Linked DNA regions of Homo sapiens: all the other regions are linked to region 1. Evidence: promoter capture Hi-C in 16 types of primary human blood cells and fetal thymus (Javierre and others, 2016). All regions are on one chromosome and are shown on one strand. Each heading gives the region's core, a stretch centred on a gene start or on the middle of the fragment in contact. The rest is flanking DNA. Distances are from core to core; before and after follow the strand shown.

The links. The method cuts DNA at HindIII sites, captures the fragments that hold promoters and counts their contacts. A CHiCAGO score of 5 or more calls a contact.
Region 2: a fragment that was not itself captured here is called in contact with the fragment with the promoter of KCTD9 in region 1 in 2 of 17 cell types (neutrophils and total CD4 T cells); the score reaches 6.3 in neutrophils.
Region 3: a contact is called between a fragment that was not itself captured here and the fragment with the promoter of KCTD9 in region 1, in 1 of 17 cell types (neutrophils). The highest score is 7.6, in neutrophils.
Region 4: a contact is called between the fragment with the promoter of GTF2E2 here and the fragment with the promoter of KCTD9 in region 1, in 2 of 17 cell types (monocytes and total B cells). The highest score is 6.5, in monocytes.
Region 5: a contact is called between a fragment that was not itself captured here and the fragment with the promoter of KCTD9 in region 1, in 1 of 17 cell types (naive CD8 T cells). The highest score is 5.8, in naive CD8 T cells.

What each region holds. Positions count from the first base shown.
Region 1 is chr8:25,457,023-25,459,751 of GRCh38, forward strand. KCTD9 (potassium channel tetramerization domain containing 9) reads right to left here and starts at 1,411. Exons shown (of 12, transcript NM_017634.4): 1 at 1,177-1,411. The coding sequence starts at 1,224. CDCA2 (cell division cycle associated 2) reads left to right here and starts at 2,211. Exons shown (of 15, transcript NM_152562.4): 1 at 2,211-2,451. RefSeq lists enhancers at 460-509, 1,880-2,109 and silencers at 1,120-1,169, 1,530-1,739. The HindIII fragment of the contact is 4,823 bases long and covers 1-2,729 here.
Region 2 is chr8:20,191,557-20,194,285 of GRCh38, forward strand. No RefSeq gene overlaps it. Among named protein-coding and RNA genes, the nearest start is that of ATP6V1B2, 4.5 kb to the right of the region's middle. The HindIII fragment of the contact is 1,768 bases long and covers 429-2,196 here.
Region 3 is chr8:30,714,312-30,717,040 of GRCh38, forward strand. The region is part of intron 1 of GSR (glutathione-disulfide reductase); the gene reads right to left. Among named protein-coding and RNA genes, the nearest start is that of GSR, 12 kb to the right of the region's middle. The HindIII fragment of the contact is 3,607 bases long and covers 1-2,729 here.
Region 4 is chr8:30,656,927-30,659,655 of GRCh38, forward strand. GTF2E2 (general transcription factor IIE subunit 2) reads right to left here and starts at 1,310. Exons shown (of 8, transcript NM_002095.6): 1 at 1,047-1,310. RefSeq lists enhancers at 1-510, 1,182-1,853 and silencers at 895-984, 995-1,404. The HindIII fragment of the contact is 11,766 bases long and covers 186-2,729 here.
Region 5 is chr8:30,635,941-30,638,669 of GRCh38, forward strand. The region is part of intron 2 of GTF2E2 (general transcription factor IIE subunit 2); the gene reads right to left. SMIM18 (small integral membrane protein 18) reads left to right here and starts at 2,640. Exons shown (of 3, transcript NM_001206847.2): 1 at 2,640-2,699. The HindIII fragment of the contact is 165 bases long and covers 1,298-1,462 here.

The DNA of each region.
Region 1 (2,729 bases), core at 161-2,660:
TCGGGGTAGCATTCATGATAACTCAAGAACTCGAATTTATACGAATTCTGATTTTAAATGAGTATTAAATCTCTAAGACCAAAAGAACATAAAATTATAGCCAACAAACCACACTCTGGTTCGAATTTTCGGAGCATGTTTACTCTACACTGAATAATCGGAAAGCCATTTTTAATGCCACTGGACAATTTCACTATTTAAAAATTTACAGTGTTCCCCGAATGTGCAGGCAGCAGAGTATTTTGGCAACCAACACAGCGAGACCCATTTACCTTTACCTTAGACTCGTAAAGGCTGAGTTACTTCTAGGTATCATTTAGCAACGCAATAAATGTCTGCCTCGAACAGTGAAAATTTCCCAAAGGAGCAGAACAACTTTCATGGGTGGGGCAAAAGGCTGGGAAGGAAGAGAATTCGTTTTGGCTTGCTCCAGCGCTGGAAGAACACTGAGCACCACACTCTCCGCAAAGGCCTAACACAGCAAAGGCGACTGTCAAATCGATCCCTTTTGGGTCTGCTGTACCCGTCCTCTAGGGAATCAAAATAAGGCAAAATAATAAAAAGAGTACAGAGAAGTTTGGCGGCGGCGGGGCGTGGGGGCTTGAGGCATCTCAGAGAGGAGGGCAAAAATCAACAAGAAAATGCCCCCATTTTAAAAATCCTGTCTGCGACCTCGGATGGGAGATTTTGTTTATCCACGGGCAGTTTACTTCTGTCTCCCTGACCCATCTCCACAGGCTCTGGTGCTCGCCGCCACTTTCCGAGCAGATCATTACTCAGCACCGGAGCCGGCGCGCCTCCTCCCGCAGGCGGGAGCGGGGTCTCGGGGAGAGGCGGGAAGAGGCGCGACCGCCCGGGCGCCCAGGTGACCGCGGCCCTCCCCGCGCCCCCGTCCCCGCGCCCCCCGCACCAAGCATCCGGGAGACCCGGAGCCCCCGGGCCGAACCGCGCCGGCCCCCAGGCAGCTGAGGCACTGAAGGGCAGGCTCGGGCACGGGGGTCCTGAGGGTCGGGAGGAGGCCGCGGGGACCCTGTGCTGTCCCCGAGCGCCCCCAGCCCGCGCACGCCCACCTCCCAGCCCCTCTACCCAACTTCACCGCTGCCCCGCCAGCCGGTTCCGCACCGTCCGCCCTCGCCCCGACCCCCGGCCCGCCGCGCCCCCTCACGCCCCCGTTACCTTTCCGTTCTTGGGGCTGCCGTTCAGGAACAGGGTCACCCGCCTCATCGCGCTGCCCCCGCTGGGTCCTGAGTGAGCCGCCACCCTCCCACCTGGTCCTCCTCCCACCTTTTTCTCCTCCCGCCCTTCCCCTCCCTCCACCCACTCGGATTCGCCTCCCTTCGCCACCTTCCTGCCCTTGGGGACACACCACACGCACGCACTCTGTCCCACACCCAAGGTTCGGCCGGTCCTCCTTCCCACCCCGCCCCTAGGCTCCTCAGCCTGCCTGGGGCCCTTCCCCCACCTCTCCGAGACTGACACTCTGCCGTACCAACCAACCCGCGTCACCGGACAGAGTCCAGCCAATCAGCACCCAGTATCGGGCGGGCTCTGGCTAACCTAGCCGGGACGGAGGGAGGGAAGAGACGCTGAAGGCTAGTAGACGGGAAGGGGCATCAGCCAATCAGAGAGGCTCCTGGAGCCGGACGGCGGCTTCCAGCGTTACTGAGCAGGCGCACCCTCTAGTTTAGGTAGCGCTTATCTGCATACGAGGGCGGGGTCTGGGGAAAGGAGGTGGAGCGCTGAAAGGGACCCAAGCACCAGTCAGCCCCTCCTCCAGCGTTAGCCCCGCCCACAAGCCGGCCCAGCTAGGAAACGGCTGCGGTAGGGACGGACTGATTGGGTAAGAGCCAGCTCGTCGCTCTGTTAGGATTGGTTGAATGAGTCTTTTCGAAGTTTGCAGCATCCAATAGAAAGGTGGGAGGCGGAGTTAAAGCGCTAAGAGAAGCGTTACTCCGCGAGACTCTCCTGAAAAGTAGTCCCCGAGGTCACAAGGCAGTGGCAGGTGTCTGTAGTCCTCGGGTTGACTGCAGCTCGCGGTGGTCCCTCTCCGAGCCCAGGAAGCCACTCCAGTGCCGAGGGAGAGGCCTGGGAGCGCTCGGAGTGTGCGCGGACTGGAGAAGGGGGAGGTGGCGGAGTGATTCGTAGAGTAAATTCGGTACCGAGGGGCGGGGTCGGGGATTTGAATCGGTCGGCGGGCGGAGGAGGCGGGTGGAGGAGGCTGCCGGGCAGAGCGCAGGCCAGGATCAGCGCAGGCTGTGAGTCCAGGTCAGCCGTCGGGACCTCGGGCTCCGGGTTCGAAGAGCGGCTCCCGGCTGCGGGTGCTTTGCCAGGAGAGCCCTTCCGGACAGAGGAGCCGGGGTCTGGAAGGAGCGGCCGACGCGACGCTCGCCTGCCACGGGGCTCTGGGAGTAAGCCTGTCTGCCTGGCGGGCCTTCAGGTGCGGCGTGAGAGGTAGGATTGCATCCGCGCTGCCACGGGGCTGTTTCTCCGGGGCATTTCTAGGCACTTTGTTCGGCTTACCCTGCAGCACAGAATTAGTACTCCTGTCAGGAGCTGCTCTGGGTGACCAGGAGTGCATCCGGACCTGTTGAGAGAATTTCTGGAAATGGATAGAGCTGCGTCTTGAGAGGGGTACCCTTATGATTCAGGTTTTCGCTACGGTTGAAAAGCCATGGCTTATCCTTTGGGGTCTGCTTTGGTGCCTGAACAGCAGTTTTCTCCATTTCTTT
Region 2 (2,729 bases), core at 63-2,562, 5.3 Mb before region 1:
TTGCAGTGAGCTGAGATCATGCCACTGCACTCCAGCCTGGGCGACAGAGCAAGACTCTGACTGAAAAAAACAAACAAAAAAAACAAAAACAAAAGCAAAAAAAACCAATAATAAAATATATAAATAATTAATTAGCTTCCTCTCCCATCTTATGCTGAAAATGTTGTACTGATGATTTTATATTGGTATATGCCTTGCTACATAGAAACACATAGGTCTGTTTATTTAATCTGTTGTGGTTTGTCTTCATAGTATTTTCCTTGATTAGAATTTTCCAGCAAATAAAGAGAGATACACATTATCTGGAAAAAAATCAGTCACTGGCATGAGATTTTCTTACCCCTTTCTTCTCTATTTTTCTTCCCCAATAATCATTTGTAATAAAAGAATAAGAGTTTGCCTTTCTATCTAAGATGTTGATTTCTGGAAGCTTCTTTTTAAATTCTTGAGAAGCCGGCATGACATGAAATCTTCCCAACTCACAGATGGAGATTCAAAGACAGAAGGAGTTGAGGATTGGCCCAAGGTTACACTGTGCATAAGGAGACAGTCAGCACTGAAACTGGGCTGGTGATTCTGAGTCTCATGTTTTGACCACATTCCCTACTGCTGGGGAATTCCTGGGATTTTTGCATTCCTTGGAAGTAAAACAAGGATATGGTTTCAGCAAATAACAGGAGGACAATAGCCAGTATACAATATCTGTAGGATGACTCTTCCTTGGCGGGGGGCGGGGAACCCTCCGTATGGAAGAATAAGATTGGTGGACAACTGTTCATTTTTAAGAAAAAAGCAACACATTTTCATTTATCTAATAGATATTTACTAAGTACTATGTGTAAGTTACCTTGCTAGGTACTTTAGATAGAAGACAAGAAAATGATAAGATACAGTCGCTGCTTAATACAAACTACTCAACTAGTCCAGGAGCCATATCATTTCTTTCTTAGAAAAGAGCCTGACACAGCCAGGCATGGTGGCTCACACCTGTAATTCCAGCACTTTGGGAGGCTGAGGTGAGCGGATCGCGAGGTCAGGAGTTCAAGACCAGCCTGGCCAACATGGTGAAACCCCGTCTCTACTAAAAATACAAAAATTAGCTGGGTGGTGGCAGGCACCTGTAATCCCAGTTACTCGGCAGGCTGAGGCAGGAAAATCGCTTGAACCCAGGAGGCGCAGATGGCAGTGAGCCGAGATCATGCCATTGTACTCCACCCTGGCTGACAAGAGCAAGAATACGTCTAAAAAAAAAAAAAAAAAAAAGAAGAGCCTGACACATATTAATTAACACATAAATATTCTGTTAATCAATAAATCAAAGCATGTAATAATAATGTTAGCTAAGCCATATCTAGCCTTTGCTATTTGCCAAATACTTTGCATTATCTCTTTTAATACAATAATTTTATGAAGATAATATTATTCTCATTTTATAAACTAGAAAAGTGAGGATTAGAGAGAATAAATTTTGTTCAAAGTCATAGAACTAATCAACTCAGGACTTAAACTAAGTCTGTCTGACCTCAGAGTCCATGCCCCAAGCCCCTGATAGAAGAAAAACTTCAGCTGAATTAAATTTAAAGGTGTTTAATTGAGCAGTGAATGATTTGTGAATCAGGCAGCCCCCAGAATCACAGCAGATTCAGAGAGACTCCAGGGATGCCTCGTGGTCAGAACAAATTTATAGATAAAAAAGGGAAGTGACCTACAGAAATCAGAAGTGAAGCACAGATAGAGCTAGATTGGTTACAGCTCAGTGTTTGCCTTATTTGAACACAGTTTGAACACTCAGCAGTGTATGAGTAGCTGAAGTACCACTGCTGGGATGGGCCAAGACTCAGCTACTGTTACAGGCGCAAACTCCTAGTTAGGTTTTCAATTTTGTCTACCTATTAAGTTAGGTTGCAGTTCATCCACAAGGACTCAAATATAGAAGTACAGAGTCCTTCTCGGGCCATATTTAGTTTGTTTTAGCACCTCTTACCCTTAAAACTGTGCAAGCCCCCCCACCTCCAGCTGATACTCTCTCTGTGTGAGTATATGTGACTTTTGGATATTTAATACACATTTCAGAAGAGAAAAAGATTTTTCTCTCCAAATTGCAGCATCAATTATTGGCATCAATGCACAATTTCCTGCTTTTTACCAATGTACAAACATGTTCTACACTACTGCAACTGGTCTATATCTGTGCTAAGCTTTCACTCAATATTATTTGGTATAAAGAGTTCAAATACTTGAATTCCACCAGCTATATATCATATTCATGTCAGTATCTATTAAATATACACTACTGGTGCAGTTTACTATTATGGGATATTTAGGTTACTATTTCACTTTCACTCTGATGAATAGCATTGCCATAACAAGCTATAAACATTTATTCCTTTGGTTAATAATCATATCATTGAGATCATGGAATCAAATTATTGGATCAAAGTGCGTGAACAAGTTTATGATCCCTAACCTATACCAGGTTGCTTTGCAGAAGGTCTGGCCAATTTCCAAAGTCATCAGAAATGAGCTGGTGCGACACTTAGCCCCGAATCCTGCCAACACTTAAAAAAAATCATTCAGTTTTCTTAATTTAACAGATAAGGTGGAACGGTGATGCTTAGTTTGAATTTCTTCATTACTAGAGAAACTAAAACTTTTCTATATTTTCCTAAATGTATTTTTCTATGTATATAACACTTCATTTATCCTTTTCCTTCTTGCATATTAAGGGG
Region 3 (2,729 bases), core at 117-2,616, 5.3 Mb after region 1:
AACAATTCTCCCTCCTCAGCCCCCGAGTAGCTGGGACCACAGGCGTTCACCGCCATGCCTGGTATTTTTAGTAGAGACAGAGTCGCACCATGTTGCCCAGGCTGGTCTTAAACTCCTGAGCTCAAGTGATCCACCCGCCTTGGCATCCCAAAGTGCTGGGATTACAGGCGTGAGCCATCACGCCTGGATATACTTTTTAAAAAAAAATAAAAAATATTTTTCTAAAAATATAGAGACAGGGTCTCACTATGTTGCCCAGGCTGGTCTCAAACTCCTGGGCTCAAGCAATCCTCCTAACTCGGCCTCCCAAAGTGTTGAGATTACAGGTGTGAGCTACCATACGTGGCCTGTATATGCTTTTTATTTTATTTTTTAAATAAAAATTAAAAATACTTTATAAAAATAGAGACAAGGTCTCAGTATATTGCCCAGGCTGGTCTTGAACTCCTGAGATCAAGTGATTCTCCTGCCTCAGCCTCCCAAAGTGCTGAGATTATAGGCATGAGCCACCACGCTTGGCCTGTATATGCTTTTGGAAAACAGTTTAATGATCACTCACCAAAATCCACAGGAGAATCTTAAATGTTTACAAGCAGCAATTATTCCACTATTCCTGCCAGCACTGCATCCTTCATGGCAGAGTATCACAAGTACTTCATACTAAAAATTAGAATAATTTATGGGCTGGGTGTGGTGGCTCACGCCTGTAATCCCCACGCTTTGGGAGGCCGAAAAGAAAGATGATTGCTTGAGCCCAGGAGTTAGGGACCAGCCTGGGCAACACAGTGAGACCCTGAGACCCCATCTCTGTAAAAAAATAAAAAATAAAAAATTAGTTGGGTTTGGTGGTGCATGCCCGTAGTTCCAGCTATTCAGGAGGCTGAGGCGGAAGGATCTCTTGAGCCCAGGAGTTGAAGGCTACAATAAGCTCTGATCATACCACTGCACTCCAGCCTAGGTAACAGAGCCAGACCCTACCTCTAAAAATAAATAATAATAATAAACGTATGGCTTTCTATCTAGAGTGCCCTTTCATCTGGCCAAGCTGAGGATATGCTACTTCTCAACCCCCAAGTACCTGACAACATTACTGGGATAAATAGAATAAGCCATTTCTAAGAAAGGAGGACGCACAGCAGGGGTTTCCTAATGGTAAGAGCAGAGAAAGGAGGTCGAAACTCTGTGGGAAGAACAATGCTAGCCCCATAATGGGAATGATTTTCTCATCCAACCTGCCTTTTCCAGTTATTTGGCAGGCAACGTGCTTCCCCGTGCCTTCCACCCACACCTTTATACCCTGCAGTTCACCATTTAAGTTCACTAAGTGGCTTCAACTAGGACAGACTCCAAAAGCAATTTTCCCAAAGGTAGAGATGATTTGTCTGCTACATAAATACTGCTGGTCTTCCAGTCACCATTTCTGGCTTCCCAAGAATCATCAAAAGCAATCCAAGGGTGTCATAAAGCACTCAATGTTCTAAACTACTCTCACATACCATCAGTTTGTTCCTCATGTATATTTGAAGCTACTTTAAAGTTATTTAAGGCTTCTTTTTCTAATTTTAAAAATATGTTTTTTAAAAAAGTTTTTAAAAAATATGTTTAATTTTAAAACATATTCTTTTTTTGGAATATGTTTCTTCTAAGCGCCAAGGTGGGCTTTCACTGGTGCCTGGTGTCTATAACTCTGGTTTGTTTTTTTAGAAGTTTCTGCCTTTTTTGCTTCTACGTCGTCTTAGCTTGCAGGCATTCATTCAGAGGTACTGAGTAAGCACTCACTTGTGCCAGGCATTATGCAAGGTAAGGCACTAAACAGATACAGTCCCTGCTCTTGGGGACTGTATCAGTATCTTGGCCTACAGTGCCAGCCAGAGAGAGGCTCTGAGCCTGTCCAAGATACTGACTCAAGGGGCAGCAGCAGAATCTCCACATTCCCTAAAATTGAAGAGCACTGGGCCAGAAACCAGAGGAAGAGGATGGTGGAAAATTGTGGCCTTGTTGGGCCAGAGAAGCTGCGCCCCAGCACAACACACTTTGGGGCCTGGGGCACTGGTTGAAAGGAAGCCTATGACCCTGAAATACCACTGTCCTATTTTGCCAGCTCCTGTGAACAGGCCTCCAGGGATTTCCACTGCTTTTAGAGGCCTATTTACATGCCAGCAACATGACATGACTTCAGCGCCTCTGACTTGGAAGGAACGAAAAGCACATTTAGGCTGGGAGTGGCGGCTCATGCCTATAATCCCAGCACTTTGGGAGGCCAAGGCAGGTGGATCGCTTGAGGCCAGGAGTTCAAGATGAGCCTGGGCAACAAGGTGAAACACTGTCTCTAGAAAAAATACAAAAATTAGCCAGGTGTGATAGTGAAGCCTGTAGTCCCAGCTACTGGGGAGGCTGAGGCAGGAGAATCACTTGAGCTTGGGAGGTCAAGGCTACAGTGAGCCGAGATAGCACCACTGCACTCCAGCTTGGGCAACAGAATGAGACCCTATCTCAAAAAATACACATACACTTAGTTCCAGTGAGAGCTGGGGAGGCCAGGGGTGAAAAGCTGGCATGCTCTCGCTCACCCATCCCCTCTGCTGCTCCCTTCTCTTTCCCCCCAAATTTTTTTTTTTTCAATTTCTTACAAATTAGAGACGGAGGCTGGGCATGGTGGCTTATGCCTGTAATCCCAGCACTTCGGGAGGCCGAGGCGGGCAGATCACCTGAGGTCGGTAGTTCAAGAC
Region 4 (2,729 bases), core at 60-2,559, 5.2 Mb after region 1:
TACGTGAAATCTGAAGTGAAGCTGTCTGGTTAAGGTCGCACAGATGGAAGAGCCAGGGCCAGGAACCAAACCTCCTGACTCCTAACTCAAGTGCTCCTTACACCAGACCTGGAACGCTGGTAAAGGCCTTTAAAACAAAGGCCACCTGTGAGGTTCGGGAACGTTCAAAGGCATCTAGAGCAGAAAGCTTCGCAATGTCTGTCTTTCACCATCACGTGCTCCGCCTAACTTTTCCTCCTTTTTCAAAGACTACCCAATATGTGTACTAAGTTTTAGATCTCTGGACCCCCCTATGGAGTAAACAGGCTACATCACCATGTCCATTTTACAATTAAACAAAACCACAACTCAAGGAGTTGGCTGGTTCCTCCGTGGGCAGACACGGAAAACCCAAAAATTAAACTGAAATCTGCCTCCAAGCCCACGATTCTTGCCACCATTCGACCTCTTTCAACCTTACTACTTCCCCTCTCTTTCACTTTTACCCAGCCTCGTTAGTGTCCCTGGCACCTCAGGACCCGGCTATGAAAAGCAGGCTGCTTCGCCCTTAAATGACGGAAGTGGGGAGGTGGGCGAAAAGGGGGCCGCAGCGTTGTTTAGACTGCAGAAATCAACTACTATCGTTAAAGTTTAGGGATCATCACAAACCAAATCTCCAAAAGGTAGCCTAGAAAGCAGTCCGCGTATGAGCATCATTTTAAATCACAGTCTTGAGCTGGCTGGACCCCGCGGCTGCTCAAACTCCACACACGGTTCGCTTGGCTACCGCGCCCGTGAACTTGGAGGCTTGGAAGAGGCACAGTCAGGCGGCAGACCGCGAATTTTCCCTCTTTCCAACCCAAAAGTTTGCTCAATGAACCTCTGGCCTAAAGACAATGCTCCGGGGAACGGTTCGCGTGCTGGGTGTTTCGCTTCGAGAACGGCGGTCCCAGCTTCCCGTGAGGTGGAGGTCACGCTCAGCCTCCCGGGAGGCGGCGGCGCGCCTGCGTCCCAGGGAACAGCAAGCCGGGGCTCTGCGCCCCACACCCGGCGGCCGCAGCCCCTACCTGAGTGAGAAGGGCAGCCTCGCACGACTCGCCGCCCCCTTCCTGCGCCTCCGCCTCGGCCGGCCGCCCACGCCGGCACTGCACCCTCTTCCTGCTTCTCGTCAGCGCCCCCGCCTGCCCGCACGCACGCCCAGCGCTGACCCGCCAGGTCGGGGTCTCACCACTGGCGGTGGCGGCGGCGGCGGCGGCAGCGGCGGTAGCTGAGGCGGCGACTGGACCCGGGACTCCGCCCGCCACTTCCCGATCGGGTGCTAGGAGCTCAGTCCCGGCAGCCACCGCGGCGCCAGGGCAGCCAAGCGAGCGCATGCGTCATTGCGTGCCCCGCCTCTGGTGCCGCGGGAGCGGAACTATCCCGCTCTGGCGTCCTGGGGCCTCCATGACAACGAGGGAAGGGCTGGGGTGGGGCCGAGAAGGGGACTGAAGTGGGAGGCGGCGCCACTGAAGATGGAAGGCAGCTTTCTTTATAGACACTTTATTAAAACTGCTACAGCCTGCTCCGGCGTGCGCTGGGATGTGGTGAACCCAGCCGACGACGCTATCTTTCAATGGTTACTTTGTGTTTTTTGTCTTTTTCTTATTAGAGACGTGATCTCACTCGGTCACCCAGGCTGGAGGGCAGTGGCGCGATCTCGGCTCACTGCAACCTCCGCTCCTGGGCTCAAGCCATTCTCCCACCTCAGCCTCCGGAGTAGCTGGGATCACAGGCGAGTGCCACCACGACGGACTATTTTTGGTTATTATTGTTGTTGTTGTTTGTATTAATAGGGTCTCACAATGTTGCCCAGGCTGGTCTCGAACTCCTGAATTCAAGCGATTTGCCCGCCTCGTCTTCCCAAAGTGCTGGGATTACAGGCGTGAGCCACCGCGCCCGGCCTCAACGGTTATTTTGTGAGTTTACCCCAGCGCCACACACCAGCACCTGCACACCGAGAACGCGGTTCCAGCTCTTTTACAAGCGAAGAACAGAGGGCCAGGAAGCTAATTAATAAATGACTTGCTCAAGACAACACAGCTAGCAAAGGCAGCCTGATGTGGAGCACAGCCCAGCCTCTTCCCTCCACCCCTGTGAACTGTCTTAGAAAAGGATTTTGGATTTAGAAGCCAGATAAATGGGTGGAAATAAAGCAGTGGAAAAAATAATTTCATTGCCCGAAACCTGCAGCGTGGCAGGCCTTCCCTCACTCTTATAACCTAAAGCGGCAGTACAGCCAGTGCTCAGCCATTCTGTGGCTGTCGTTGAATTACTGGTTACTCTTCAAGTTACTGAAACTGTGGCTCAGTTTTCTCATCGGGGAAATGGGGATAATCATTGTACTACTACAATGAGTTACTTGCATTGGACTGTGGTGAAAATTAAGTGAGAAAATACCTAAAATTTTATTCAAAACTTGGAAAAAAGTCAAAAGATAATATTTTGTGACTTTTATTAGTTTCATTCTAGAGAATTTTGTAATAAGCCTACTTGATCATCTGACACCCACAGGAAATGTAACTTTGTTTGAATAACAATTGATTAGGGCCCAGAAGATTTACAAAAGGATGAAATCAAACATCAATTGGTAGGAAACTGATGAGGTGTTAGGGGAAAAAGGGGCAGGGAATTCAGTGTGTATATAGATAGATAGATAGATAGATAGATAGATAGATAGATAGATAGATAGATAAAATTCCAAAGGTTAAGGT
Region 5 (2,729 bases), core at 130-2,629, 5.2 Mb after region 1:
CTTTACAGATAAATTAGGAATAAAAAGCCACAGGCACTGCCACTGCATGAACATGGATGCTTACTTTAAAAAGCATCACAGCACTACCCACCCACTTTGAGAAACACCCCCCTCTCCTTCTCTATCTGGTGTGGAAAACCCTGTACAAAAGATCATTTGTTTCAAAATATCTATCATTTTGTTGCATTCTTACAAGCAGAAACCCTAATGTCACCACTGCATCACAAATGCATTCCATTAGTCATAACCAGGAACAGTAAAAAATCCATCATAAATACTAGAAAAACATTTTAGAAGTACACATTCTATTAGCAAGGCATGAGATCAGATATTATAAAGTTCCCATGTGGCTGATCCACAAAGAGAGAGGTTAAGTAAAAGGGGAGAGGAGAACCAATCTCTGGCACCAGGTTGGTAATAATAATTTAAACAAAAGATTGCATTAGAACAACCACAAGTCAAATGTAACAACTGTCAGAGATCCAAAAGAACAGCTTCTAGATGGCAATACCATACTCCTTTGAGATTAGTGAAGTCTTTATTGAGTATCCTTTTTTGAGACTAAAATGAAACTTCATATGCAATTTTCCTTTAAAACTAACTTTGTTACAATCTTAATTAATTGGCACACTGAAGTCTACCATGTTTCCAAAAGTAACAATAACATTAAGAATGCCTTACAGTTGGGAAGCCCAGGTGGGCAGATCATGAGGTCAGGAAATCGAGACCATCCTGGCCAACATGGTGAAACCCCGTCTCTACCAAAAATACAAAAATTAGCTGGGCATAATGGCACGTGCCTGTAGTCTCAGCTACTTGGGAGAATCACTTGAACGAGAGAGTTGGAGGTTGCAGTGAGCCGAGATAGTGCCACTGCACTCCAGCCTGGCAACAGAGTGAGACTCCGTCTCAAAATTAAAAAAAAAAAAAAAAAGAATGCCTTATAGGTGCTTTTCCATTCACTGTTTCAATTATGAAATATTACCTACGTAGTTCATTCTCCCAAGGTGTTCAGCACATCTGTAATAAAAGTAACCAATATTTATTATCTGCTAAACACTATGGTAAATATTCATACGTAATCCCTCCCAAAAAATCCAACTTAAGAAGTATTACTGTCCCCTTTTAAATATAATAAAATTGAGGGTAGTAAGCAGCAGAGTATAGATTCAAATCCAGTGTAAACCCTGTAATAAACAGCCTTTACACAGATTATTCCATCTGAAACTGGCCATTTTGTCAAAGTACAGAAATCTGTGACTGCACATTTAATGCTTGTTTAAGTAAAATAATATTAAGCTTACCCCACGCAACTGTATAAACAACTGGGAAGACTATGAAAAAAGAGATGACAATGTGTTAAGGACAAACACCACACAAATGGCCAATTATGAATCACAAACAGTTGTGCTTATGAGACATGATGCTTATGTCTCTGGCATCTACTACTAACTCAATGTCAAGCTTAGTAAACACTCAATAAATATTTGTTGAATGAATGACTATAATACAGATATTTCTATGCATTCCTTTATGGCCCCAGAAACTAATGTACCAATTCATCTATAATTTTATTTTATTTATTTTATTTTATTTTATTTGAGATGGAGTCTCACTCTGTCGCCCAGGCTGGAGAGCAGTGGTGTGATCTCAACTCACTGCAACCTCTGCCATTCGGGTTCAAGCAATTCTCCTGCCTCAACCTCCTGAATAGCTGGGATTACAGGAGACTGCCACCGTGCCTGGCTAATTTTTGTACTTTAGTAGAGATGGGGTTTCACCATCTTGGCCAGGCTGGTCTTGAACTCCTGACCCTGTGATCCACCCAACTCAGCCTCTCAAAGTGCTGGGATTACAGGCATGGGCCACCGCTCCCAGCCTTCATCTATAATTTTAAAAAAGAAGTCTACATAGCATGTACCTGGTCTGCTGCTGTTGTTAACAGCCACTCCCATAATTAAAAACCTTCATTCTGTTGTGCTTAGACCATAACTCTAAATAATACACAGTAACTAAAAATACTCTGTCTCTAAAGAGCCAACCTGGAGATCACTTTGCCATTTACATTTTAGAGACTATTTTTTGAATGCAGGTAGTGTATTTACCTAAATGAGCCCTCTTCCAACTTGCAGAGCTAAAAGCCAATTATTTTCCTTCATAATTCCTCCTAAATCAAACCACCACATGGAAATAATCACTTCCAGAGTGCAAAAATTATATACGGAACAAGTAATGAAAGAAAAGGAAGAACAAGAAAAATTTATAAGATTTTATGCACACTTCCTGAAGGAAATATCAGGCTGGCAAACCTGGACTGTTTGTTTCCTAGGTTACTACCTTTCCCGACATTATCTTCCAGCCCTAGCACTGAAGTATTCACTGAAGGATCTGAAATTTTATAATGAAACACTAAAGAATCATCAATTTGTTAGTAACTCACAAATTCCTATATAGGAATTTAGCTTAAGAACAAAAAAATAAAGGAGAAGGGATGACAGTTGATACCCCAGACAGCTCTATTCAAGTTTATGAATGATTTACTCTTAAGGGTGGCAAGACTTAATGCAAATGAACATAGAGGAAACTGTCAGCTCCATTGTGGTTCAACCAATAGAAGCACAGCTCCATCTTGGCTGTGCACTAGACTGCATTACAAACAGACGATACCATCGCTTCAGCAGCATCCTCTCAGACAAGAGGTAGGTTTATATGATCTTTTTTATTTAGTG